Regions from separate parts of the Homo sapiens genome. Here regions 2, 3, 4 and 5 are each linked to region 1. Evidence: promoter capture Hi-C in 16 types of primary human blood cells and fetal thymus (Javierre and others, 2016). All regions are on one chromosome and are shown on one strand. The core of a region is centred on a gene start or on the middle of the fragment in contact, and the rest is flanking DNA. Distances in the headings are between cores, read along the strand shown.

Region 1 (5,172 bases), core at 1,895-4,394:
ACCAAAGCCCAGCCTGGTCTAGTACTCCTGGGCTCAAGCAGTCCTCCCGCCTTGGCCTCCCAAAGTGTTGGGATTACAGGTGTGAGGCACTGTGCCTGGCCTAGGGTAGCTTTTGAGCATCTTCCTTTTAAAGGCAGCCAGGATGTGCCCCATGACCCTTCTCTTCTTTGAAATGTACTTGAAATGTACGTTTGATGGCTAGTACTACATCTTGGACCATGAGGTCTAGGGACAGCAGAGCAGAATGCTGGCATGCTGCCAGTAGCCTGAGTACTCAAGGATTCCTTTAAGCAGAGCCATCATTCTAGGCCTGTACTACCTCCAGGTTTTTGTGAGAAATAAAATTCTATCAAGTTTAAATCATGGCTATTTTGGGTTTCATTTACAGGTGAACTTACTCTACCATCTAAACAATTTCTTTCATCATTCTTAGCATTTAAGAGCAGCGTCTGGAGTCAGACTGCCTGAGTTCAAATCCAGGCTTTGTCACTATTTTGTGCATTCCTGGGCAAGTTACTTAAACTTTCCTTACCTTCATTTCTTCATCTGTAAAATGAGGAAATAACAGTAACTACTTCATAGGATTATTACTGGGGTGAAGATCAAATTATCTGATACACGTAAAGCACCATTTATAGTGCCTGGAACATAGTAACTGCTATTCATTACAACAACATAATGTTATTATATTATGAGTTTTACTCATGCTTTTTAATACTGCTTATTTCCAAAGGACACTACCAGTCTTATTTGACACTTTCAAGTAGAGGTTACTATCTACTGCCATATAGTAATAATTAACATTTATCTAATGCTTTACAAATTAACTTTTCACGTATGTATTACTTTGTTTCATTCTTACAATTATCCTGTGGGGTGAGTACTGCTATACTTTATTAAATGAGGAGAGTAAAGATCAGAGGATTTAGTGATTTGCCTAAGGTTACAATTGTAAGTGGCTGACTCAGACTTACTCCTCCAACTCATTTAACAGTCTGGTACAGCATGGGGGTCATTAGTTATACTAAAGATAATTTAGGAAATGAATATGTTCCATCCATTTCTATTTAAGAGACTTCTTTTCAATACATTTGTACATTTTCTCTGGAAAGTGTCTCTTCCTTTCTAGACCACTGCCACTATCTCTAACGCAGCCTCAAGCACTACCCCAGACTTCTAATACCTCATGCTTTGATTACTGCTTTCATTGCTATTCCCTTATTTTTATTCAAAAAATCAATGACTCCATTATTTTAAGGATACAGCGCAAACCCCTATGCTGAGCTCCATCTACAATCTAACCTTTCATGTGTCCTCTTGATCTTATATGAATTCTCCCTTGCACCAAACTGGGTATTCTCTTTAGTGTTCTCTAAATCCACTTTTCTGCATCTACACTTTTGTTTATTCCCTAAACGCATGTAGAACGCTCTTTCAATTTATCTTTACTTATCTCAATTCTATCTATATTTCCTAGTTCCTCCATGAAACTTTTCCTGATGTATTTTATCTGGAAAAACTCTTCCTCTTCTGAATTCTTATATAGAACTTACTGGCCAGGCACAGTGGCTCATGCCTGTAATCCCAGCAATTTGGGAAGCCGAGGCGGGCAGAACACCTGAGGTCGGGAGTTGGAGACCAGCCTGGCCAACAGGGCGAAACCCTGTCTCTACTAAAAATACAAAAATTAGCTGGGCGTGGTGGTGCGTATCTGTAATCCCAGCTACACAGGAGGCTGAGGCAGGATAATCGTTTGAACCCAGGAGGCGGAGGTTGCAGTGAGCCAAGATCACGATATTCTAGCCTGGGCAACGGCCTGTTTTGTCTCAAAACAAAACAAAACAAAAAGAACAACAAAAACTTACTGTCTTTATATAATTCATTTGGCACTGTTTTATGGCACGACATCATTGATCAACTATATTTTTGCTTCTATCTCAAACCTTTCTCAGGCCGTGTTTTTGTTTTTGGCAGTGTTCTTGTTGCCTAGCACAGTGCCATCTCACTTATTTGTTGATTCTGTTTCCTTAAAAACAAAGATGAGACCAATTCAAATCCTCATTACTGCGGGCAGCAACAAATCATCCAAACTCTGGCACTTCCAGTTCTTTCGAGCTTTCCTACCAGGTCGGAGGGTTGTCTTAAAACTTGAGGGAGATGAACTGAGTAAGCGATTACACTGAAAGCATGGGAGGGAAAGGACGTTCCAAACGTCCAATCCATCATCCTTTTGCAGCCTCTTAGTCACTGGGATTTTGAAATCTCTTTCCAAAGACTAGCTATGGCCCTAAATTGGAAATAGGCTACTTGAGAACACAGTGGATTCATAGTTCATCTCGGGCAGTTTTAGGAGAAATGCCACCAGCTTCTGCGTTTGAAGGCCAAGGTTAGCTGTTCATGGCGTGAGCACCTTCCTGCTTCCAACCTCCGGTTATCTGTAAATACCCAAGTCCTCTAATTTAGGACGCAGGTCATGGGAAGACGCTGGTTCTTAGGGCAGAAGTGAGCTCACATTCCCAGCATTTTTCTTAAACTTGGCAGAACTGCACTTTAACAAATTAAAATCCATGTGAATGAAAAGGAAAACTTAAGTAGGAAACAAACTTAAGCTTGAGTCAGTTACAGCATGGTGAGGATGTCGGTTACAGCAACACTCAGAGACCGATGAAGGAGAAATTCCAGTGGTGGGCTGGGAGACCGTCTCCATTCCAACTCCACCGCTTTTCTCTACAGAGACCCACGCACGCCAGCTCCCGCCTCAGTCACAAGGGAACGCCCGCGTGGGCAGGCAATCGTCCTTGGTGAGCCGGGATCTCCTCACCCCGAGAGCCGCAGGCTCCGCTGACGCCGGTACAGGTCTCGCTGCGACTCCCTCTGGGCGCGCGGAATCCTGGGACTTGTGGTCCCTTCCGCGCGCTGTCCGCCCTAACCGGCGCAGAGAGGACTACACTTCCCAGGATGCGTCGGGGGAAGAGGCCACAGGGACAGGCAGAGGGAGGGGGCGGCCCCAGTCCTCCGGGGCGTCGCTGTTTCCAAGCGGCGAGATCTCGCCTAGTAACCGGCAGCTGAGGTTCACTAGCGCGGCGTTGTGGCCCCGCCCCCGGAGCCCCGGCTGGAGGAAGAACCTGTCTCCCGCGGCGCCCCAGTGACGAAGTCCATCCCCGGGTGCGGGAGGCGGGGAGGGGAGGGCAGGCAGAGGATTTCGCTCGCTCGCCCGCGCGGGATCCGGGACGCGCCGGTGGCGTCCGCTGGCAGCAGAGGTTAGAGGCAGAGAGCGCGCGGATGCTCCGCGGGCGAGGCTGGTTCGAGAGTGGGAGGAGTGCAGGGCGCCGCCAGGGCGGCAGTGCGCGCGGGCCGAACAGTCCTGAGGGCGGGCATCCCTCGCGCAGCGCGCCGACCCCCGGGACGTGTGCGTCTGTGGGGGGTTGCTGTCCCCCGGGTCCCTCGGGCGACCCCTCTCCACGCTGGGCTCAGGGCAGGACCCGGGATTCCGTGGGACCCGGTGTTTAGCGCAGAGGTTTCTGGGGAGAAGTACACGATTTTTGCCACTTGTTATTTGATTTCTCCTCGACCAGGAGCGTTTGTAGGTAGCGCACTCCCTCCGACTGCACTAGTGCCTCGTTTCTTCCGAGTAAGACAATCTTTCATGATGCGGATTGGAGTTGCTGATCAATGAGAGCTGCTAAGTTCTTTATGGCTTTCTCGGTGAAGAGAAGGTTCACGGAGGATATGATTATTAAACACACACATGAAAACTAATTGGAGCATCTAAAAAATGACCATTGCATATTCGCCCTCGCTTATTAGGGAAACAGCAAGCGTTCCTTCAAATCGCATCAGCAACTGCCAGGCAGCAGCATTTACGCATATTTCATATCATTAAGGAGATGGAACTGGAGAGAGAAAGCGGGAGTAGGGGACAATTTTTAAAAATACCCAACTTGGTTTAGTTTGGGGATAATTTTCTTGGATTGGGTGACTTATGCGAAAAATCTGTTTCTTTCTTCCTCGCTCTCGCTTCCTGGATATAGACTGTCAATTTCGGATCCAAAGACGGCGATGGCAGAGCTCACCCGGGTTGCCTGTCAAATCAAGGCTATCGCAGAATAAATCCCGCCGCCTGCCGCGAAGCCCCGGCGCACCGCAAACTTCAGTGAGCGAACTGGGTGATCGCTGTTGGGATATGCAGATTCCTGATGTAAAAGGCGGGGTGGCCCCCCCGAGAGCCTCTCCCGGGGGCCGGAGCCCGCAGGTGCAGTGAGGCGCGCGCGCCGGTGCCGGCGCCCCCAGAGCCGCCTTGCCCGGGTAGAGGGAGCCCGGCGCCCGGCGGGGTCTGGCGGCCGCACACCGGCGGCGGCGGCTTGTCTGCGGCGGCTGCAGCGGATGATGGTGGCGGCCGGCCCGCTGGGCTGTGCCTGTGTGTCGCCGCGGAAATCAGCGCCCTGCGCCGCGCGCTGAGCCCCTGCAGGTCCGCCGCAGCCCCAGCCTCGGCGAGGACGGCCCCGGCGCGCGGGGGGGCGGGGGGCGCGCGGGGTCGGCTTATCATGGCGGATCGGACGGCGCCCCGCTGCCAGCTCCGGCTGGAGTGGGTGTACGGGTACCGGGGTCACCAGTGCCGCAACAACCTGTACTACACGGCAGGCAAGGAGGTGGTCTACTTTGTGGCTGGGGTCGGGGTGGTTTACAACACCCGCGAGCACAGCCAAAAATTCTTCCTGGGACACAACGACGACATTATCAGGTAAGGGGGTGGCCAGGGGCGGCGGGGAGGGGTTGCGTGTGGAGGCTGGGAAGGTGGGAAGCGGTTGACCTGGGGTCGGATCCGGGAGCCCCGTGGAATAGAGGATTCTCTCTGGAGCCGCATGGAATTACTGAAGGGCTGCTGATTCTAGGGCCAGGGCAGAAACAGTGTGGGGAGTGTAGGTGAGGAGGGAGAGATGTCTTTTCGCTGTATCCCTCCGGAATTCTGGCTTTTAAATCTCCAAGGAGTTGAGTGTTCTGATGCTTTCTTGCTGTTCTTTCCTGCTACAAGTGGAAGGAGCCTGGGTAACTATGAAACACTTCTTCCTTCCCTAACCAGGTGCACGGTAGGACCAATAACCTGAAGTGTGGGCATCATCTTTGGGAGGCTCCTCAGTGGGTTTCTCAGTAAGCAAGAGGATTAAAAAAGAT
Region 2 (5,172 bases), core at 773-3,272, 750 kb before region 1:
ACACGAAAAACTTCATTATACTCTAGTCAAGGGGAGAGCTGTTAACCTTGACATTTTATGATCACTCTCTGAAGAGGGCAAATTACATGTTTTAGTTTTGCTTCTTTTTAATTAAAAAGGTCCCACCCACCCCTCAAGTGGAAATGAGAAATTTGTCAGAGGCCCCTTAATAATTGGCAGATGAGAATCATCCAGTGAATATACACAAAACTATTACAAAACCCTGAGTCATCACTCAGTTCAATCAGCAGCTTTGGGTAAACACTGAATGAGTGAGTTATGTCTTGTGTGTTCACCCGTCCATACCCACATGCGTGAACATACCATGTTACTAGATTTTATGTACAGTTAACCAAACAAGATACAGCAAAATTCTTTCTTAAAAAGCTCTTCGGACACAGTAAAGATGCCCATCCAGCAAGTAAATGTAACCTTTTTTCCCCCACTGTATTTTCACTCGTTTTTTTTTTTTTTTTCCTAATTTCAGTGACACTATAGTTTGAAGCTAGTTTACAAACAGAACTCCTGAAACTGATTTAGGTAATCTCTTAATCTGAGTAACTCAAAAAATTAACACAAGCCTGATACTAATATCGCCCTGGACATCCTGACAGTGCTCTTCCCTACTTTCCTCAGTATCTTAAATGTCTCTCCAAAAGAAATGTCACAACAGGAGCAACACACAATCCAAAACAACACTGTCCACATAAGACGTTAAGCTCAAGAATGAGGTCTGACTTTAAACGACCCTTTTCGATCAACTCCGCCAGGTCTGAGAGGGCCCCCAAAAAGCAAAACCCTTAAGTTTCCCTATGGTCTTCTCTCCATTCAGAAAGTTACTAGACGCCAACGGAGATGCGAAGAGGCGGGGATCGTAGGGGAAGGAAGAACCGGAGGAAGCAAGGAGACAAGTCAAGGAACTCCCCCAAAGACAAATTCTCTTTGCCCCGCCTCTCCCATGCGCAAAAGTCCACGGAGGACCCTTGAGAAAGGCTCACCTCTCTCCCTCGGGGCCGGGGCCCTTGGGCTACCCAGGGCCCCCCAGGTGGGAAGACAACAACCCGAACACTTCGGGAGAAGCAGATGCGGAGGACGTAGAGGGATGGTAAAGACCCGGGAAGTCCCGTAGGAAAGTGGCAGGGAGGACGGCTTGAGTACTTCACAGGCTCTGTCACGACCCTGGGATCACCGCTCGGGGACAGCTCCAGCGAGGACAGAGCTAAGGGTCCAGCCCTCTGGACAAAGAGCAACCATCCCCGACACCTCTCACTGAGCCTTTCCCCCCGGCCCGGCCCGCAGGCCCGGGCACACTTACGTGGAGAGTTTCCTGGTCCAGAAGAGGCCCCCGGGCCACAGCTCTTGGAGCTGCACGGCCCGGCCCAGGTTGCATTTGATCTGGGCCAGCTGCAAGTCGGACTCGGCGTCTAGCCGCTCCGCGTAGGGCAGCAGCTTGTTGTAGACGATCTCCTTCTGCGGGACGAAGCCCCGCGGGCCCGGCTCGGGACGCCCGCCCGGCTCCGGGGGCTCTCCGACTCCCGCCCGCTCGGCCGGCTCCATGAGCCCAGGGACACCCCCCCCACCCCCTCCCACCCGAACCCTCCCCGGCCCCCACCCCTCTCCGGGCTCCGCCTCCTCCGCGTCTTCGTCGCCCTGCGGCCGCTGGCGGCCCGTCGCCCTCGGACCGATCGCTAGGCCCCCTTCCCTGGCCGGCGTGCTGCTGGGCCCCACGCGGCTCTCAGTTCGTTGGCGGCGGCAGCGGCCGCTCTGCCCGCCCCGCACCGGCTCTGCTGGTGACGCTGCAGCCGCCGGGCCCAGAGGTTCCGGACCGGCCTCAAGTCACTTCCGGGGCGGGGCGGGGCGGAGCGACGGCGTCGGGGGAGGCGGTGGTGGCGGCAGCTGGAGCCCAACGGGCTGCGCCTTCTTCGCCGTGGGCCCGGCTCGGAGCCCCCACCCCAGGCCTCACCGGCCCAGCGCGAGGCTGCCTCACCGGAAACACGAGGCCGAATTCCAAGCTATTGTCCTGCTTCGCCGGGGGTCGCGCACTCCAAGCGGCAGCCCACTGGAGTCCCAGTCGCCACGACAGGCGGCAGCCAGGTCGGCCTGGTCCCCCTAGCCGAGCAGCCCCGGCTTCTGGGTTAGAGGGGTTTATGGAAAAGCCTACGTACCCACTTGCTCCTTATAGATTTATTTACTCCATCCCGCTTGTTCCTTATAGATTTAATTTTTCTGTCCCCTTTAAGTCCCCATCTTTCTGGTATTCTGGCCGCCATCATTCCAAAGAAGAAAATAGTTACTCGCTGAACAAATGCTATTTGAACAGCTGTTTTGTGTGTAAGGCGCTCAGTTTAGGCTATTGAGATAGAAAGTTTAACCTGGTTTCCGCCCTCCCAAGGACTTAGTCTAGCAGAGATAAAGACGTGAATTACAAGATAATGCTCTTAATTGCTAGATAAGTACAAGAATCCTTAGGAACTCTACAAAGAAGTTGAAACTAGGGGGTTTGAGAGGGTGTCATTTTCCTAGAAGTGATACTTAATTTAAGCTATGAAGGTTGAGTGCAAAGTTGGTTAGAAAAAGGAGGGAGGAGGACACGTATTTCAGCTGAGAGAACAGCTTTGACGCTGCAAGCATGTATTCTAAAAATTCAAAGTTCAAAATAGCGTAAGAGAGGGGACGGAGAAATGAGACTGAGAAGGCAATCCTAAGGAATTCAGAGCTTTATCCTAGAGACAAACTTCCAAAAGATTTTAAGCATAGCAGTGGGATGATATAATTTACATTTTTTAAGAATTACTCTGGCGGCCGGGCGCAGTGGCTCACGCCTGTAATCCCAGCACTTTGGGAGGCCGAGGCGGGCGGATCACGAGGTCAGGAGTTCGAGACCAGTCTGGCCAACATGGTGAAACCCCGTCTCTACTAAAAATACAAAAAAGTTAGCCGGGCGTGGTGGCGGACGCCTGTAATCCCAGCTACTCGGGAGGCTGAGGCAGGAGAATCGCTTGAAACCGGAAGGCGGAGGTTGCAGTGAGCCAAGATCGCGCCAGGGCACTCCAGCCTGGGCAACAAGAGCGAAACTCCGTCTCAAAAAATAAAAGGGCCAGGCGCGTGGTGGCTCACGCCTGTAATCCCAGCACTTTGGGAGGCCGAGGCGGGTGGATCACGGGGTCAGGAGATGGAGACCATCCTGGCTAACATGGTGAAACCCCGTCTCTACTAAAAATACAAAAAAATTAGCCGGGCATGGTGGCGGGCGCCTGTAGTCCCAGCTACTCGGGAGGCTGAGGCAGGAGAATGGCGTGAATCCGGGAGATGGAGCTTGCAGTGAGCCGAGATCGTGCCACAGCACTCCAGCCTGGGTGGCAGAGCGAGACTCCGTCTCAAAAAAAAAAAAGAGTCACTCTGGCTTCGTCTGGAAAATGGGTTGGAACTGACAAGATTGGGAACTGGAGGACCCTTTAAGGTGTGACATAATCATGGCCTGGATGTCAGTTGAAATTGAGAGCTACTTCAGCAGAATGGCTTGGGCTTAGTAGTTGACTGAAAGTGAAAAATTAAAAAGGAAAGAGACAAGACGACGCTGGGTAGATAGGTGAAGTCCTTCACTGAGATAAAGAACACAGCAGAAACAGCTTGGGAGGCAGAATGCCTATGGGATGGGTATGTTGACATATGTATCAGGAGGGTGATCTAAACTGAGATGCAGATTAGCGTGTAGATGGACGACAGGAGGGAAGGAAATATACAGTATGAAAAAATAGGGCCCTTCACAAATCTCTGAGGAGCCCCACATTTAAGGACAGACAGAGAAAAGGAAGGTAGGCCACAAAGAATATTCACAAAAAGCAGAGAGAGGAGGAGTTCTAGGAAACTGGGTGTCTCATGGAGAAGCGAACAATCCTACCTTAGGTAGCTAACAGGTCAAATGAAGTGAAACCTGAAAGGGTTTATTGGATAGTTTATTGATAAAGCGCATAAGAACAGTGTCGTTGGAGTGTAGAATAGAAATCTGATTATGGTGACAAAGGACAAATGGGAAGTGAATAAATAGAGGCAGCAAATATGGACAACCTTTTAAAAAATAATGGGGTAGGGAGAGCCGGAAAGAGATGAGTGTCAGGCCTCTGAGCCCAAGCTAAGCCATCATATCCCCAGTGACCTGCATGTATACATCCAGATGGCCTGAAGCAACTGAAGATCCACAAAAAAAGTGAAAATAGCCTTAACTGATAACATTTCACCATTGTGATTTGTTTCTGCCCCACCCTAACAGATGAATGTACTTTGTAATCTCCCCCACCCTTAGGAAGTTTCTTTATAATCTCCCCAACCCTTAAGAAGGTTCTTTGTATTTCTCCCCACCCTTGAGAATGTACTTTGTGAGATCCACCCCCTGCCCCCAAAACATTGCACTTAACTCCACCACCTATTCCAAAACCTATAAGAACTAATGGTAATCCCAACACCCTTTGCTGACTCCTTTTTCAGACTCAGCCTGCCTGCACCCAGGTGAAATAAACAGCCATGTTGCTCACACAAAGCCTGTTTGGTGGTCTCTTCCCACGGACGCGCGAGACAATGAGGAGGTACTTGGAATAAAAGGAGGGATTTTTGAATGTGGGATATATATATGTGTGTGTGTGTGTGTGTGTGTGTGTGTGTGTGTGTGTGTGTGTGTATATATTTTTTTTTTTTTTTTTTTTTTTGAGTCTCACTCTGTAGCCCAGTCTGGAGTGCAATGGATCCATCTCGGCTCACTGCAATCTCCGCCTCCGGGGTTCAAGTGATTCTTCTGCCTCAGCGCCTCGAGTAGCTGGGACCACAGGTGCGCACCACCACATCCAGATAATTTTTTTTTTTTCGGTATTTTTAGTAGAGACAGGCTTTCACCATATTGGCCAGGCTGGTCTCGAACTCCTGACCTCGTGATCCGCCCGCCTTGGACTCCCAAAGTGTTGGGATTACAGGCTTGAGCCACTGAGCCCGGCCATATTTAGATATATTTAAATATGGATGAAAAGGAGCCAGTGGAGAGAGAAGTTAAAGATATTGGGTGAGGACGACAAAGAGCGGAAGAGAATGTGGAGTCATTGACCTTTAGAAGCAAATCAAACTGTGCTTCCATTGTCAGAGGAGGAAAGCAGGGAAGGAAGCATAGGTGCAGATGCTGGAATG
Region 3 (5,172 bases), core at 1,344-3,843, 730 kb before region 1:
GGGTTTTGCCATGTTGCCCAGGCTGGCATTGAGCTCCTGGGCTCAAGCAATCTGCCTGTCTCAGCCTCCCATGGTGCTGGGATTACAGGTGTAAGCCACCATGCCTGGCCCATAATTCAATTTTTGTTTTGTTTTGTTTTGTTTTTTTGAGACAGAGTCTCACTCTGTCACCTGGGCTGGAGTGCAGTGGCATGATCTTGGGTCACTGCAACCTCTGCCTCCCGGGTTCATGCGATTTTCCCTGCCTTAGGCTCCTTAGCAGCTGGGATTACAGGTGCGCGCTACCATGCCCACCTATTTTTATTGCATTTTTAGTAGAGACGGGTTTTTGCCATGTTGGCCAGGCTGGTCTTCAACTCCTGACCTCAGGTGAACTTCTGCCTCGGCCTCCCAAAGTGCTGGGATTACAGGCGTGAGCCACCACGCCCGGCCTGTAATTCAGTTTTAAATAACACCATCTGAAGGCCACCAAGAGTCCAGTCCCAGTAGGAATATTCCAAACCCAGTCATTTCTTCTCATCGTTACTCTAACATGCAGTGGAAAGGCTATCAGGCCAGCATGTGCCTGCTGGCACCATCGACTATTGTGATCTACTGTGAGCCAATACTTAAATAAGAAGACATATCTTTCAATAACAAAAAGTCAGATTGGTAGACAATTCTTTTTTTTTTTTTTTTTTTTTTTCACAGACAAGGATTCCCAGGCTCAAGCAATCTTCCTGCCTCGGCCTTCCAAAGTGCTAGGATTATAGGCATGAGCCACCATGCCCTGCCTGACAAATCTTGAGTCAGATATTAGTAAAACAAAGAATATATTTGCCCAGTTCTTTTAGGGCATAGTCCTGCTAAAATGCACCTAATGTGTGTATTTAGGGTACTTATCATAATGGACATCTGTAATTGCTTTTGGCTGCCCAGCATCTGAACCCACTTGCTAGATTCGGGACATCTCCCATTATCTAGGTCTTGGTGGGAAGTAGGCTCTGACCTCTAACTTTAGAAGCCTAAGGGATGAGATTCACCCTCTACTAACTCCCCTGACAGCCTTGTGACCCAGATTTAGCCACTATGTACTTTGTGTCTTGAGTAAGCAATGCCAAGATGAAGGGATGATAAGTGATATTGGATCTGTGGTAGCTCTAGTATTAGCAGTTTGGCATTGAGGCTGTGTTTATTGTGAGTAGTGGCTGCCTACAGTGGCCATTATGTCAAATACTAGAGATGTCCTATGTTGGTGGTGGCAGCAGCATCTCCACCAGACTGTTCCTGCCACTCCTACTCCCTTGGTCCCAGCCAATTGTTTGAGAATGTTTTCATCATTTCTCATCACTTCTGTGAGTTACATAAACCCTTTTCTTTTCTTTTCTTTTTTTTTTTTTTTTGAGATGGAGTCTTGCTCTGTTGCCCAGGCTGAGTGCAATGGTGTGATCTCGGCTCACTGCAACCTCTACCTCCTGGGTTCAAGCAATTCTCCTGCCTCAGCCTCCGGAGTAGCTGGGTCTACAGGCATGCACCACTACACCTGGCTAATTTTTGTATTTTTAGTAGAGGCAAGGTTTCACCATGTTGGTCAGGCTGGTTTTGAACTCCTGACCTCAAGTGACTTACCCGCCTCGGCCTCTCAAAGTGTTGTGATTACAGGCATGAGCCACCACTCCTGGCATATAACACTTTTCAGTAAATTCATCTTCTATTTAATTTAGCCAGAGTTCACTTCTAACAAGCAAGATAGTTGATATATCAAGAATCCTAGCTGGGAGCTGTGGCTCATGCCTGTAATCCCACCACCTTGGGAGGCTGAGGCAGGTGGATCACCTGAGGTCAGGAATTTGAGACCAGCCTGGCCAACATGGTGAAACCCCAAATATACTAAATATACAAAAATTAGCTGGGCGTGGTGGCGGCCACCTGTAATCCCAGCTACTTGGGAGGCTGAGGCAGGAGAATCTGTTGAACCCGGGAGGTGCAGTTTGCAGCGAGCCGAGATGGCACCATTGCACTCCAGCCTGGGAGACAAGAGCAAAACTCCGTCTTACCAAAAAAAAAAAAAAAGAAAAAAAAAGAAAAAGAATCCTCACTTTCAGCAAATTAGCATAAAGCAGTGGTTGAGAGAGCTTCTACTGTCAGAGTTTCTGATTCAGTAGGTCTGCAGATGACCTAAGAATTTGCGTTTTTTTTTTGTTTTGTTTTTTGTTTTTTAAGGCAGAGTCTCGCTCTGTCGCCCAGGCTGGAGTGCGGTGGCGCGATCTCGGCTCACTGCCAGCTCCGCTTCCTGGGTTCACGCCATTCTCCTGCCTCAGCCTCCCGAGTAGCTGTGATTACAGGTGCCCGCCACCACGCCCGGCTAATTTTTTATATTTTCAGTAGAGACGGGGTTTCACTGTGTTAGCCAGGATAGTCTAGATCTCCTGACCTTGTGATCCGCCCGCCTGGGACTCCCAAAGTGCTGGGATTACAGGCGTGAGCCACCGTGCCCTGTCGAGAATTTGTGTTTCTAACAAGCTTCCAGGTGATGCTGCTGGTCAAGTGTTCAAAGGTATGCTGCTGGTCATCATCAGATGTTGTGATTTTATAATTTTCTCTCAAATGTTGCTGAGTAGCATTCTATGAACATACCATAGTTTGCTTATCCATTCATCTGTTAATGGACGTTTTGGTTGTTCCCAGTTTCTGGGTATTACAAATAAAGCTTCAATAAATATTCATGTATAAGTCATTGTATGGACATATAACTACTTTTCTCTTGGATACATACCTAGGCATAGAATGGCTGGTGTATGTGTAACTTTTTTTTCTTTTTTTTTTTTTGAGATGGAATTTCACTCTTTCGCCCAGGTTGGAGTGCAGTGGTGCGATCTTGGCTCACTGCAACCTCTGCCTCCTAGGTTCAAGTGATTCTCCTGCTTCAGCCTCCTGAGTAGCTGGGATTACAGGCATGCGCCACCACACCTGGATAATTTTGTATTTTTAGTAGAGACAGGGTTTCTCCATGTTGGTCAGGTTGGTGTCGAACTCCCGACCTCAGGTGATCCACCTGCCTCAGTCTCCCAAAGTGTTGGGGTTACAGGTGTGAGCCACTGTGCCTGGCCGTATTTCATCTCATATATTGATTTTACCTCATTCACCCTGCTCCAGGCACTCCGACCTTCTCTCAATTTTTTTTAAGTTTTTTATATTTATTTATTTTTATTTAGCGATGAGGGCTAAGTATGTTGTACAAGATGGAGTGTAGTGGCTATTCACAAGTGCGCTCATAGGGTACTGCAGACTCGAGCTCTTGGCCTAAAGCAATCCTCCTGCCAAGCCTCCCAAGTAGCTAAGACTACAGGCACATGACACCACACCCAGCTTCTTTCAATTTCTTGATCAAGCCAAGCTTTTTCACAATGTAAGAGCTCTTGCCCCTCTTTCCCTCCTTCCTTCCTCCCTCCTTCCCTCCCTCTTTCCTTCCTTTTTTCCCCTTCCTTCCTTCCTTCCTTCCTCCTTCCCTCCCTCCCTCTCTCCCTTTCTTCCTTCTTTCTTCCTTCCTTTCTTTCTTTCCTTCCTTCCTACTTTTTTTCTTCCTTCCTTCTTTCTCCTTCCTTCCTTCCTTTCTTCTTTCTCCTTCCTTCCTTCCTTCTTTTCACCAGTGTCATAGTAAGCACTTACTTTTAATTTTAACCTAGTGAGTGAACCAAGCACTTAAATTTACTCTAAGTGCAATGGAAACCTATAGACAAGTTTTTAATCAGGAAAATGATATAAATTGATTTAAACTTTCAAAAGATCTCTCCTGACTCTGAATGGACTATAGATTATAAGGGGATAAGAATGAAAGTACTGTGACTAATTAGGAGGCGTTTTCAGCAATTCAATGAGAGATGACAATGGCTTGTATCACGGTAGAAGTAGTGCCAACGGTGAGAAGTACTCAGAGATGAGAAATATTTTGGAGGTCGGGTGCGGTGGCTCACGCCTGTAATCCCAGCACTTTGGGAGGCTAAGGTGGGCAGATCACCTGAGGTCAGGAGTTTGAGAACAGCCTGGCCAACATGGTGAAACCCCGTCTCTACTAAAAATACAAAAATTAGCTGGGCATGGTGGTGTGCACCTGTAGTCCGAGCTACTTGGGAGGCTGTGGCAGGATAATCACTTCAAACCAGGAGGCTGAGGTTGCAGCGAGCTGAGACCACACCACTGTACTCCAGCCTAGGCGACATAGTGAAACTCCATCTCAAAAAAAAAAAAAAAAAGTTTTCCAGTGACGGGAAGCAAAAGAAGGAGAAGTAACTTAAAGAGAATACGCATCAGAAAAAAGGTTTTATGGCCAGCCATGGTGGCTCACTCACACCTGTAATCCCAGCACTTTGGGAGGTCAAGGCAGACGGATCACTTGAATCCAGGAGTTCGAGACCAGCCTGACCAACATGGTGAAACCCTGTTTCTACCCAAAATACAAAAATTAGCCAGGTGTGGTGGCACATGCTTATAGTCCCAGATACTTGGCAGGCTGAGGCACGAGAATCGCTTGAACCCAGGAGGCAGAGGTTGCGGTGAGCCGAGATGGCACCACTGCACTTCAGCATGGGCGACAGAGGTTGACAAGAAAAGGTTTTTGCTTTGTTTCGCTTTCTCAGATGAGAGATGCTAGCCCATCTTTGGGATCAGAAATCAGAAGTTATTAGAAAGAGAGAGATGATGGTGTGGAGAAGGAAGGATTAGATCCAAAGGGCAGGAGTGAAATGAAGGAAGGAGGGACACTCCCACTGTTGAAACTGGAAGGAAGAAAAAAAAAGTACAGGTGCAGATTGAATCATAGATTTGGGAATCAGGCCGGGCGTGGTGGTTCAAGCCTGTAATCCCAGCGCTCTGGTGGGCAGATCACCTGAGGTCAGGAGTTCCAGACCAACCTAGCCAACGTGGCGAAACCCCATCTCTACTAAAAATACAAAATTAGCTGGGTGTGGTGGTGGGCATCTGTAGTCTCAGCTCCTCGGGAGGCTGAGGCACAAGAATCGCTTGAACCTGGGAGGCAGAGGATGCAGTAAGCCAAGATCATGCCACTGCACTCCAGCCTGAGCGACAGAGTGAGGGAAAAAAAAGGATGAAAAAAAAAAAGATTTGGGAATCAAAAGATAAGCTATTTCTGGTAGTCTCTATTTTCCCGGAGAAGTAGGCAACACCCTCAGTTGG
Region 4 (5,172 bases), core at 1,974-4,473, 560 kb before region 1:
TGCCTCGGCCTCCAAAAGTCCTGAGATTACAGGCATGAGCCACCGCACCCAGCCAGGATATTTTTGAATAGTTAAAGTATTTTATCATGATAATGTTTTCATTCAGTAAATGTTTATTATGTGTATTTCGACGTCCCTCTGCTAGGTGCTAAGGGGCATAAGATGATTAAAGGGGTTGTGAAAAGTCCAGTCTAACTGGGGTGAGAGAGGTAGGCAGGTAAATTAGCACAGGTTGGAAGCACAGGGGTAGAGTTTGGGAATGAAGCTCTGGGGCAGCACAGTGGGAAGAGTGCTCCTCCTGCCTTGGGGAACAGGACAGGCCTTGCCTCTCCTTCTGGCTTCCTCTGTCACTATTCATCTCGCAGGCTTTTCTGTCCTCTGCCACAAGTGCTCTTCCTCCCTGAGGACTTTTGCAGAAGTTCTTTCCTCTGCCTGGAATGGATGCTTCCTTCTTGTCTCCACGCCTTGCTGATTGCTCCCCACTCTTTCATTCCCCACTTGCTGTGTTGTAGCCCCTCACTGTGTGCTCTGCTTCCTGACATCATTTAGCACGGCTGCTGTGAAAGGATGACTTGCTGGATATTCCCCACCTCCCCCTCAAGAGAATGCTTTCAGCTGTAAGTAACAGAAAACTGATAAACAAGTGGCTCGACAAATGGTGGTTTATTCTCAAATATATAGGGGACTGGAGGTCAGTAGCCACTGGTGCTTGTTGAGCTGTCATCAGTGTCAGGATCGTGTCTGTAGGATTCTCTTGTCCTTTCCCTCATGGTTATAAGATGGCTGTCCCAGCTTCAAGTGCACCCACACTCAAGGCTGGGGGAAGGGATGGCTCTGGGTCTTTTCCTTTTTATCTGGAAAGCAAACTCTTTCCCAGAAGCTGGCAGCACACTTCTATGTGTGTGCTATTGTCCATCCCTGGCAGTAATCAGCTTTTTCAGCCACTCATAAGGATGAAAGGGAGAGGGGGGAGAGGTATTAAGACTAGTGTTGTGTTTGCCATTCAACAATGCCATCTACACTTCTCAAGACTGTAAGCTCCTTAAAGGCAGGGATTGTCTGTCCTTTTCTTCTTTGAATTCCCAGTGCCTTGCACAGTACCTGGCACATAGAGTGAATGGTGACAAGCATGTCAGAAAGAGAAGGTGGAATAAGGACCTTTCAGGAGAAGAGAATGTCAGATACGAAGGCATTGAGCTGAAAGAGCCTTCATTGTGTTTTTGGGAACATGTGACTGGAACATAGGCAGATGACAGACTACTGGAAACTGAAAAGCTCTGCATATCATGTGAATTTGTCCTTCTGTCAGCAATGGGGAGTCGTTGAAAAGTTTCAGGCCAGGGAGTGACACAATAGTATTTGTGGGTTAGATTACTGTGTTGAAAATATGGGCTAAGAACTGGAAGAAGGGAGATTGGAATCAAGGAGATTAATTAACCATATCATACTGTGGTTTCATCAAAGAGAGTAAGAATAATTTGGAAGATTGGAAAATATAATTTTAAAATAACCTAGAACAATGATCTCAAAGTAGGACCTTGGATCAGTAGCATCAGCATTACCTGGCACCTTGTTAGAAACGTAAATTCTTGGGGTCCACATTGAGCCTACTGAATCCGGAGCCCAGGGTAAGTTCCAGCAGTGTGAGTTCATAAGCCCTCCAGGTGACTGTGATCCACATGAAAGCTTCAGAGCCACTAAACTAGAGCAATGGATGCTTAAGGGTGAAAGACAGCTTGGAGATCACCCAATCTGATACAGCCAATCTGCATATCAGAATCACCTGGGGAGCTTTTACATGGCAACTAAATTGCCCACACCTCCTACTCCACACAGCAGAACAACTAAATCATGATCTTGGGGGCTGGGACCCGTGCATCAAATTATTTCCAATGATCTCAAGTGTTTCCAATGAGCAGCCAGGTCTGAGTACCATTGGTCTTATCTAACCCCTATTGATGGGAAAACTCAGGATTCAAAGAGGAGTTACTCAAGGGCGTATAGCAAGCTCAGGTAAGAACTGGGTCCTTGAATCAATTTCATAAGCTGTCATCTCCATGAATGCCTTAAACACTATCCCAACTTTTTAATTTTTAAATTATATTAAAAACTTTTGTGGCTACATAGTAGGTATACATGTTCTATCCTAACTTTTTAATGATTTGCCTGAAGATAATCATTCACGGTGACAAATACAACTGCCAAATTTTTAGAAGAAAAATAGGTTACAGACATTATGAAAAAGTCAGTTCTCTTTTACATGAACAGTATTACACACTTTAAAAAGTTATCCTTTTTGTAAATATTTTGTAAGAATACGTATTTTTAACAATAATGAAAAGAATATAGATACAATAGGGTAGAGAGTGCTTTGTTATTTGTGTGTATAAGTAATAACCCTTTTTTCAAACTCTAGATGGAGCTCTTTGGTTTTTATATATTCTTTTATTTATAATTTGGTAAGTCTTTGTTTTAAAAGAAGCAGCTATTTTGGGATTTTTTTAAAAACATTAAAAATTTTATAATAAGTATTCTCAACATTTCTCAGCTCTCCTTTTCTTGTTGTTTCACAACCATATAGATTCTTACTTTTTTTTGTTATTGTTCAATTGCTGGACCAAATCCAAATTCAGGCCTCAGAGAGTCATTTCTCAAATGCATCTTAAAGTTGTATTTTATCTCACAGTATTTAACGAATGGGATAAGTTTCCCATGTTTATTGTTTGTAATAGGTCTCAAAGTTGTAATAGAATTTGTGTAAGATGGACCTCCCTTTATGAATAATGCCAGGAGAGAAAGTCTCTGAGGATATTATAGCTGTTGCTATAGTAATTCCTTCAGCTATTTTTACCCCACTGTGTACAAAGGAGTGTTAACAGCTACCTTCTTGTAACATAAATGAAACATTTTGCTGCTGCTTCTTTTTCTTTTCCGTTTTACTAGCTCAGTATTCTCTCTTCTATTGGAAGTGCACTTGGAGCAAAATTCCCAAAATATGAGGCCTGTTGTTTTTAATGGTATAAGCCTGTGGTGTGGTTCCTAGGCCAGCAGCAGCACCATGGATATCACCTGGAAGTTTGTTAGAAATGCAGATTCTCGGCTCCCACCCTAGACGTACTGAATCAGAAACCCTGGGGATGGGGCCCAACAATCTGTTTTGAAAGGCTGTTTTGAAAGGATAAAAATCCTGTACTCACCGGAACCTACATAAAAAAATTTCCTCCTGTACAGGCCAGGCATGGTGGCTCACCCCCATAATCCCAGCACTTTTGGAGGCCAGAGGGGGAAGATTGTTTGAGCCCAGGAGTTGGAGACCAGCCTGGGCAACATAGGGAGATGCCCATCTCAACAACAACAAAAACAACAACAACAAAAAATCAGAAAGTTAGCCGGGCGTTGTGATGCACACCTGTGGTCCCAGCTGCTTAGGAGACTAAGGTGGGAGGATTGCTTGAGCCTGAGAAGTCAAGGCTGCGGTGAATCGTGATCACCGCACCCCAGTCTGGAGCCAGAGTGAGACCCTGTCTCAGAAAAGAAAAAGAAAAATTACTCTGTACAGTCACTTTTGCTCGTTTTGGATTTGTCCAGTGCTTTTCAAATCACCCAGGGCTTTTGTTAAAAGGAATAATTTTCATTCAGTAAGTTTGAGGTGGAGCCTGATATTCTGCCTCTAACAAACTCCCAAACAGTATGGATTTTGCTTGTCCCCGGATCACATTTTGAGTGGTGAGGCCAAATAGCACATAGTAAGGCCATAACCATGCCTGCATGTGAGTTATCTGTGATTTATGTGTATATGCTTTTGATTTAGTATACCTAAAGTCAGTTTTTCCTTTTCAATCACAGTGGGAAGAGACAATTTATAGAATGTAATGCTTTCTTGTCTAATTGTAAGTGACTCAATCATATTAAATGCTACAAGAGGGTATTGTTTGCCAGGATCTGTCTCTGAGACCCTCTGTTATAATCAGCAGTGGACACCCTTGAAAATTACATTATTTAAAAAACTGAGACTCATTCATAGCATTATGAAGTCAGAGAGAAAGTCCTGAAGTTTGAAGAAGTTTTCAGACAAAATAATTTCAGACAAAAAGAAGTGGTTCATAAATGTTTGTTATCGGCTGGGGGCGGTGGCTCACGCCCGTAATCCCAGCACTTTGGGAGGCCTAGGGGGGTGGCTCACCCAAGGGCAGGAGTTTGAGACCAGCCTGGCCAATGTGGTGAAACCCCGCCACTACTAAAAATACAAAAAATTAGCCAGGTGTGTTGGTGGATGCCTGTAATGTCAGCTACTAGGGAGGCTGAGGCAGGAGAATCGCTTGAACCCAGGAGACAGAGGTCGCAGTGGGCCGAGATTGCACCATTGCACTCCAGCCTGGCCACCAAGAGCAAAACTCTGTCTCAAAAAAAAAAAGTTATCATTCACTTATTATTTACTGAGCATCTGCCGTGGGGAGCATTGTGCTAGGCACTTTAGGAAATTTTTTTAAAAAGGATAAAGTCCTTGACCTTGAGGAGATAACAGTCTAGCTGAGGCAATAAAACTTATGCCTGTGAAAGTTAATTACCAAAATAGGGAGTATTCTGTCAAATGGTAAAGAAGCGTGGTAGAATTTCGGAAGACCAAAGGATAGCTAATGGCTGGTAAGGCTGAAAGAGGGATCTGATTAGGGCTTTGGAGCATGTATAGAACTTAGACATTCAGAGGAGAGGGAAGGTGGGGGAATGCTCCATGGAAGAGAGATGGCATGGGTCAGGGTGAAGCTTCTAGGAGTGAATCATGGATGCACACAGGAACTGGGGAGAAGTTCAGATGACATGAATCTTAACTTCTTGTCTAGGAGCCAGATAGGTGAGGATTTAACTGCCAGGCTTTTGAGTTTTGACTTAGTCCCTTGTGCACCAAGGAATCATTGAAGAATGCTTTCAGCTGGGGGCAGGGTGACCCAATCATAATGATGATTTAGGAGGAGTCATTAATGGAATATTCAGGATGAATTCAAATGACAGACTGGAGGCTGAAACACTTGTTGGTAGGCACCGGCACTGGGTACATAGGGAAGAGAGAAGACTGCAGGAAATACAGTAAGGAAGAGAACTGGCAAAGGGACAATATAAACTGAAAATATAAACAGATTAATGAGAAGTTAAGAAAAATTAATTCATATGAAT
Region 5 (5,172 bases), core at 1,134-3,633, 540 kb after region 1:
TGGATTCAAACAATTGTGGATCGAAAATTTTTTTAATTTTTTAAAAAGATGGTTCTGTCTCTACTGAATATGTACACCTTTTTCCTTGTCATTATTCCCTAAAGTATACTGTTTACATAGTATTTGCTTTGTATTAGGTATCATAAGTAATCTAGAGATGACATGAAGTATACAATGGTATGTGCTTAGGTTACATGTAAATATACGCCATTTTATATAAGGAACTTGGACATCTGTAAATTTTGGCATGCGGCAGCGGGGGTCCTGGAACCAATGCCCCATAGATACTGAGAGACACATATATTCTTCAGCATTACAAAAAAAAAAGAATGGAAATTATGAACTATTTCAATGCGTTTACCTTAACCATATAAAGCTATCTTGAACAAAATTATAAACTTTTACAAAGCCTTAAAATTTTTGGCCAGGCGCAGTGGCTCATGCCTGTAATCTCAGCACTGTGGGAGGCCAAGGCAGGCAGATCATTTGAGGTCAGGAGTTCGACGCCAGCCTGACCGACATGGTGAAACCCCGTCTCTATTAAAAATACAAAAAAATTACCTGGGCGTGGTGGCACATGCCTGTAGTCCCAGCTACTTGGGAGGCTGAGGCAGGAGAATTTCTTGAACCCGGGAGACAGAGGTTGCAGTGAGCCAAGATCACGCCACTGCACTCCAGCCGGGGAGACAGAGCGAGACTCTGTCTCAAAAAAAAAAAAAATTTTTTTTTAATGATTTATCTCATAATATGGCATTTCTACAATATGCTTATATTTTATATTTATATACAACATATATATTATATAAATATATTTATATTTTCTACTAGATAGTCTTTAAAATTGTTCACAAATGATAATAGTTATTTGATGTGACCAAAGAAATTAAGGCTCTGGACGGGTGATCTTTGCTAGATAACTAGGCATTAAATGCTACATTTCATTCTTTTTTTTTTTTTTTTTTTTTTCAGATGGAGTCTCGCTCTGTTGCCCAGGGTGGAGTTCAGTGGTGTGATCTCAGCCCACTGCAACCTCTGCCTCCTGGGTTCAAGCAATTTTCTCCAGCCTTAGCCTCCCAAGTAGCTTGAACTACAGGTGTGTGCCACCGTGTCAGGCTAATTTTTGTATTTTTAGTAGACACCGGGTTTTACCATGTTGGCCAGGCTAGTCTCAAACTCCTGACCTCAGGTGATCCACCTGTCTCAGCCTCCCAAAGTGCTGGGATTACAGGCGTGAGCCACCACGCCTAGCCTAAATGTTACATTTCAACCAATCTTCCCAAAGTGTATTTTATGGTTCTGACATAGTAAATGTATGGTTCTGACATGGTAAATAGAATATACTGAATTTTTTTTTTTGAGATGGAGTTTTGCTCATCGCTCAGGCTGGAGTGCAATGGCGTGATCTTGGCTCACTACAACCTCCACCTGCTGGGTTCAGGGGATTCTCCTGCCTCAGCCTCCCAAGTCGCTGGGATTACAGGTGCCTGCCAGCACACCCGGCTAATTATTTTGTATTTTTAGTAGAGACGGGGTTTCACCGTGTTGGCCAGGCTGGTCTTGAACTCCTGACCTCAGGTGATCTATCCGCCTTGGCCTCCCAAAGTGCTGGGATTACAGGCGTGAGCCACCGCGCCTGGCCTATACTGAATATTTTTTAAAAGAAAGAAAAGAAATGATAACAGAAACAAGTACAGTATAGCAAAGAAAGTATCTTATTAGGCAACAAAGGAACCTTAGGTGGACACTCACTCTGACAGTCAGTGTTATCTGGACTCAGCAAGTCACTTGTTTCCTATGGGCCTCATTTTCCGGATCTCTGTTAAAAATAAATAAATAAATAAGTGTTTGAATATCTGTCCTTCCTATTACAAGACTAAGAGGAGAAAATGAGATGATGTATATACTTTATCATCAGCTATTTTAAAACCATATCACATGTCTTGATACTCGCTTATAAGCTTTGAGGATTCATTGCTTATAAGTTAAAAATATTCACAAGTCATTAACTTGTTTACCTTCGGACAATTATGAGGTTGTGTATGTGTGTGTAATCGAGCAAGCATTTTACCTTAAAAGGCTTATTCGAGTAAAGATCAAGGAAAAATCTAACTTAATGCCAACGAAATAAACACATTAAGATTTAGAAATTCAGGCTGGGCGTGATGGCTCATGCCTGTAATCCTAGCACTTTGGGAGGTCGAGGCGGGCGGATCACCTGAGGTCAGGAGTTCGAGACCAGCCTGGCCAACATGGTGAAACCCCCTCTCTACTAAAAGTACAAAAATTAGCCGGGTACGGTGGCGGGCGCCTGTAATCCCAGCGACTTGGGAGGCTGAGGCAGGAGAATCGCTTGAACCCAGGAGGCAGAGACTGCAGTGAGCCGAGATCAGGCCACTGCACTCCAGCCTGGGCGACAGTGAGACTCTGTCTAAAGAAAAAAAAAAGAAGATTTGGAAATTCATTCAATAGTATTTACACACATTAAATACTTCTAAGAATGGCACATGGAAAATATCTTATTTACGTTTGTGCCCCTGGACCAAGAAGTAGAGTGCTCAGGTAACACAGGATTCCTTGAGAAAATAATTTTTAAATCAGTATGAAACCAGATTTGAGAAGAGCACAGATTAATGGAGTGGGAGGAAGGACCCTACGAGATATTAACCAAAGCACAGATATGTAATTGAGGCAGGAACTGGAAAGACACATTGGAGGCAATAACCCAAATGTCAAAACTGGAAGGAAACTTGTCACTTACTCCAAGCTCCTCATTTTACAGAAAAGGAAACGGAAATCCAGAAGGGTCAAAAAAGCTTCTCCAATGTCATACCGCTAGTTAATGGCAGTCAAGACTAGAACCCAGACGTTCTGACTCCCAGTACGGTGTTGTTTCGCCGCTAGGATATCCTTGTCAAGGAATCTGAAAAAAGTATGTTGCAAATACGTAGTTGCGTTAGGGAAAACGTCTGAATGTGAGCTGGAAGCTTTGGAACTTACCAGAAAGGTAAAAATAAATCACTGCAGAAAAATTACGGATCTGGGGTGGCTCGCCTCAAATTGGAGCCCAGAAGGCCTTGGGCCCATGGGAGGCTGGGAAGTGAGGACCTGCACCCACAGCCGCGCGCGAGGAGGGGAAGCCGGCCAGCCGCTTCCGAGAGAACAGTGCACATGCCTTCGTGAATGCCTAACGTGGGCTCACGCAGGGATTAAATGCATCTTGGAAAGGCTTCCGAACGCACAATGTTTATGAAGTTCGCGTGATTTGTGCCACTGACACGTTAGGCGAAACAACACACACCACCTGCACCGGACAACCCTGGTTAAGGGATCCTACCCACTTAACTCCTACCTACAGCCCCGGGCCCCTGGATTCTGAGCACGGGCGGAGATCACCTTCTGGACCCGGAAGAATGGTCGGTAGGTCAGTCCGTCCCCGCTACGGTCCCCGCCGGGCTTCCGGTCCCGCTGGAAAAGGTTCTTTCCGGAATTCAGAGAGTTGCTGTCGCCGCTGGGGGTGGGACTGTCTGCGGTGTCCGCGGCGGGCGTCCAGCCTGGGAGGCGCTGGTTCAACCTGTGGCTCCTCCCAGGGTCAGCCGCGCGTGGTGAATCGTTTCTGCAGGTCCCTTCCATTTCTTACTTTCCTTTCCTTTCTTTCTCTCTTTCCTTTTTTTCTTTCTGTCCCTCTCCTTTCTTTCCTTCCTTCCTTTCTTCATTTCTTCCTTCCTTTCCTCTTCCTTCCTTTCCGTTTTTCTTTCTCTTTTTTTTTTTTTTAAGAAAACTGCCTTTATTCAATTAGAAGTTGGAAAAATTAACTGGTACAGAAAAAAAGTGTAATCAGCTGGAGAAAAAGTGCCACCCATGAGAACTGATGGCTCCTCTGGGAGGGAATCTGGATACAGTGAGGATTTCTAGGAAGCAAATTACTTCTTCTCTGGGGCTATGAGAGGCCTCGGTGGTGCTTAACACTGTAGGAAACGTTAAATGGAGAATTGTGGGAGAAATGATACCTCCTTCAAAGATACGTGTTCCTAACAAGAAGGAAAAAACAAATGCAAGCGAACAGTGGCGGTAGAACCAGTTAGTATTGTGCGAACAGTACTTTCTGTTTTCTCCTAAGTCAGCTCGTGTGTATGGCATTAGGAGTAATAGAGCCAGAGTGCCTGGTTTCCTATCCCAGCTCATTCCTAGTGTGTGGTTGGGAATGTTTTGTCAACTGTCCATGTCCCAGTTTGTTCATCTACATTATAGTAATGACAGTAGCTAGTTCACAGGATTGTAATAAGGTTTTTGTTGTGTTTTTGTTTCTATTTGTTTTTGAGATGGAGTTTCGCTCTTGTTGCCCAGGCCGGAGTGCAATGGCACGATCTCAGCTCACCGCAACCTCTGCCTCCCGGGTTCAAGCGATTCTCCTGCCTCAGCCTCCCGAGTAGCTGGGATTACAGGCATGTGCCACCACTCCTGGCTAATTTTGTGTTTCTTGTAGAGACAGGGTTTTTCCATGTTGGTCAGGCTGGTCTCGAATTCCCTATTTCAGATGATCCGCCCACATCGGCCTCCCAAAGTGCTGGGATGACAGGCGTTAGCCACCTCTCCCAGACTGTTTTTTGTTTTTTTTGAGACAGTGTCACTCTGTCGCCCAAGCTGGAGCACAATGGCGCGATCTCGGCTCATTGCAACCAAACTCCGCTTCCTGGGTTCAAGTGATTCTCCCGCCTCAGCCTCCCGCGTAGCTGAGATTACAGGGGCACATCACCATGCCTCACTAATTCACCATGTTGGCCAAGCTGGTCTCGAACTCCTGACCTCAGGTGACTGCCCACCTAAGCCTCCCAAAGTGCTGGGATTACAGGCATGAGCCACCACGCCCGGCTGCAATAAGCTTTTAATGGGTTGATAAACTGTTGATAAGTAGTGCCTGGTTCATAGTATGTGTTTGCTGTTATGGTTATTACTGCCTGCCCCCAGAGCTTTCCCTCATCTTGCTTGGACATTATGACTTTCAGCTGGTCGTTTTGACCACAACCATCACCACCTCTCAAATATAAATATTGTTTTATTATCTCTGTCTTTTGGTAAAAGGAATTTGAGAAGAAAACAAAATCAATCAATTAATCTTTGTCTTTAAGATCTACCACTCCCCTGGGTAATTGGTATGGTACAGAAGTTCATTAC

The links. Contacts are between HindIII fragments. The CHiCAGO score rates a contact against its expected background, and 5 or more counts as called.
Region 2: a fragment that was not itself captured here is called in contact with the fragment with the promoter of EML6 in region 1 in 1 of 17 cell types (fetal thymus); the score reaches 5.6 in fetal thymus.
Region 3: a fragment that was not itself captured here is called in contact with the fragment with the promoter of EML6 in region 1 in 1 of 17 cell types (naive CD8 T cells); the score reaches 5.8 in naive CD8 T cells.
Region 4: a contact is called between a fragment that was not itself captured here and the fragment with the promoter of EML6 in region 1, in 1 of 17 cell types (endothelial precursors). The highest score is 5.3, in endothelial precursors.
Region 5: a contact is called between a fragment that was not itself captured here and the fragment with the promoter of EML6 in region 1, in 1 of 17 cell types (fetal thymus). The highest score is 5.4, in fetal thymus.

Annotation. Positions count from the first base shown.
Region 1 is chr2:54,720,518-54,725,689 of GRCh38, forward strand. EML6 (EMAP like 6) reads left to right here and starts at 3,145. Exons shown (of 42, transcript NM_001039753.4): 1 at 3,145-3,260; 2 at 4,032-4,741. The coding sequence starts at 4,545. RefSeq lists an enhancer at 2,678-2,897 and silencers at 3,038-3,527, 4,199-4,348. The HindIII fragment of the contact is 5,681 bases long and covers 2,608-5,172 here.
Region 2 is chr2:53,969,228-53,974,399 of GRCh38, forward strand. PSME4 (proteasome activator subunit 4) reads right to left here and starts at 1,766. Exons shown (of 47, transcript NM_014614.3): 1 at 1,316-1,766. The coding sequence starts at 1,557. It also overlaps a transcript of ACYP2 not described here. RefSeq lists enhancers at 614-1,378, 1,645-1,939, 2,235-2,284 and silencers at 1,435-1,634, 1,609-1,770, 1,645-2,034. The HindIII fragment of the contact is 6,659 bases long and covers 1-5,172 here.
Region 3 is chr2:53,988,616-53,993,787 of GRCh38, forward strand. It overlaps a transcript of ACYP2 not described here. Among named protein-coding and RNA genes, the nearest start is that of PSME4, 20 kb to the left of the region's middle. The HindIII fragment of the contact is 187 bases long and covers 2,501-2,687 here.
Region 4 is chr2:54,159,454-54,164,625 of GRCh38, forward strand. All of the region lies in intron 3 of ACYP2 (acylphosphatase 2), which reads left to right. Among named protein-coding and RNA genes, the nearest start is that of ACYP2, 46 kb to the left of the region's middle. The HindIII fragment of the contact is 3,078 bases long and covers 1,685-4,762 here.
Region 5 is chr2:55,265,820-55,270,991 of GRCh38, forward strand. MTIF2 (mitochondrial translational initiation factor 2) reads right to left here and starts at 3,412. Exons shown (of 16, transcript NM_002453.3): 1 at 3,350-3,412; 2 at 2,759-2,920; 3 at 1,750-1,816. RefSeq lists enhancers at 3,355-3,504, 3,450-4,273. The HindIII fragment of the contact is 855 bases long and covers 1,957-2,811 here.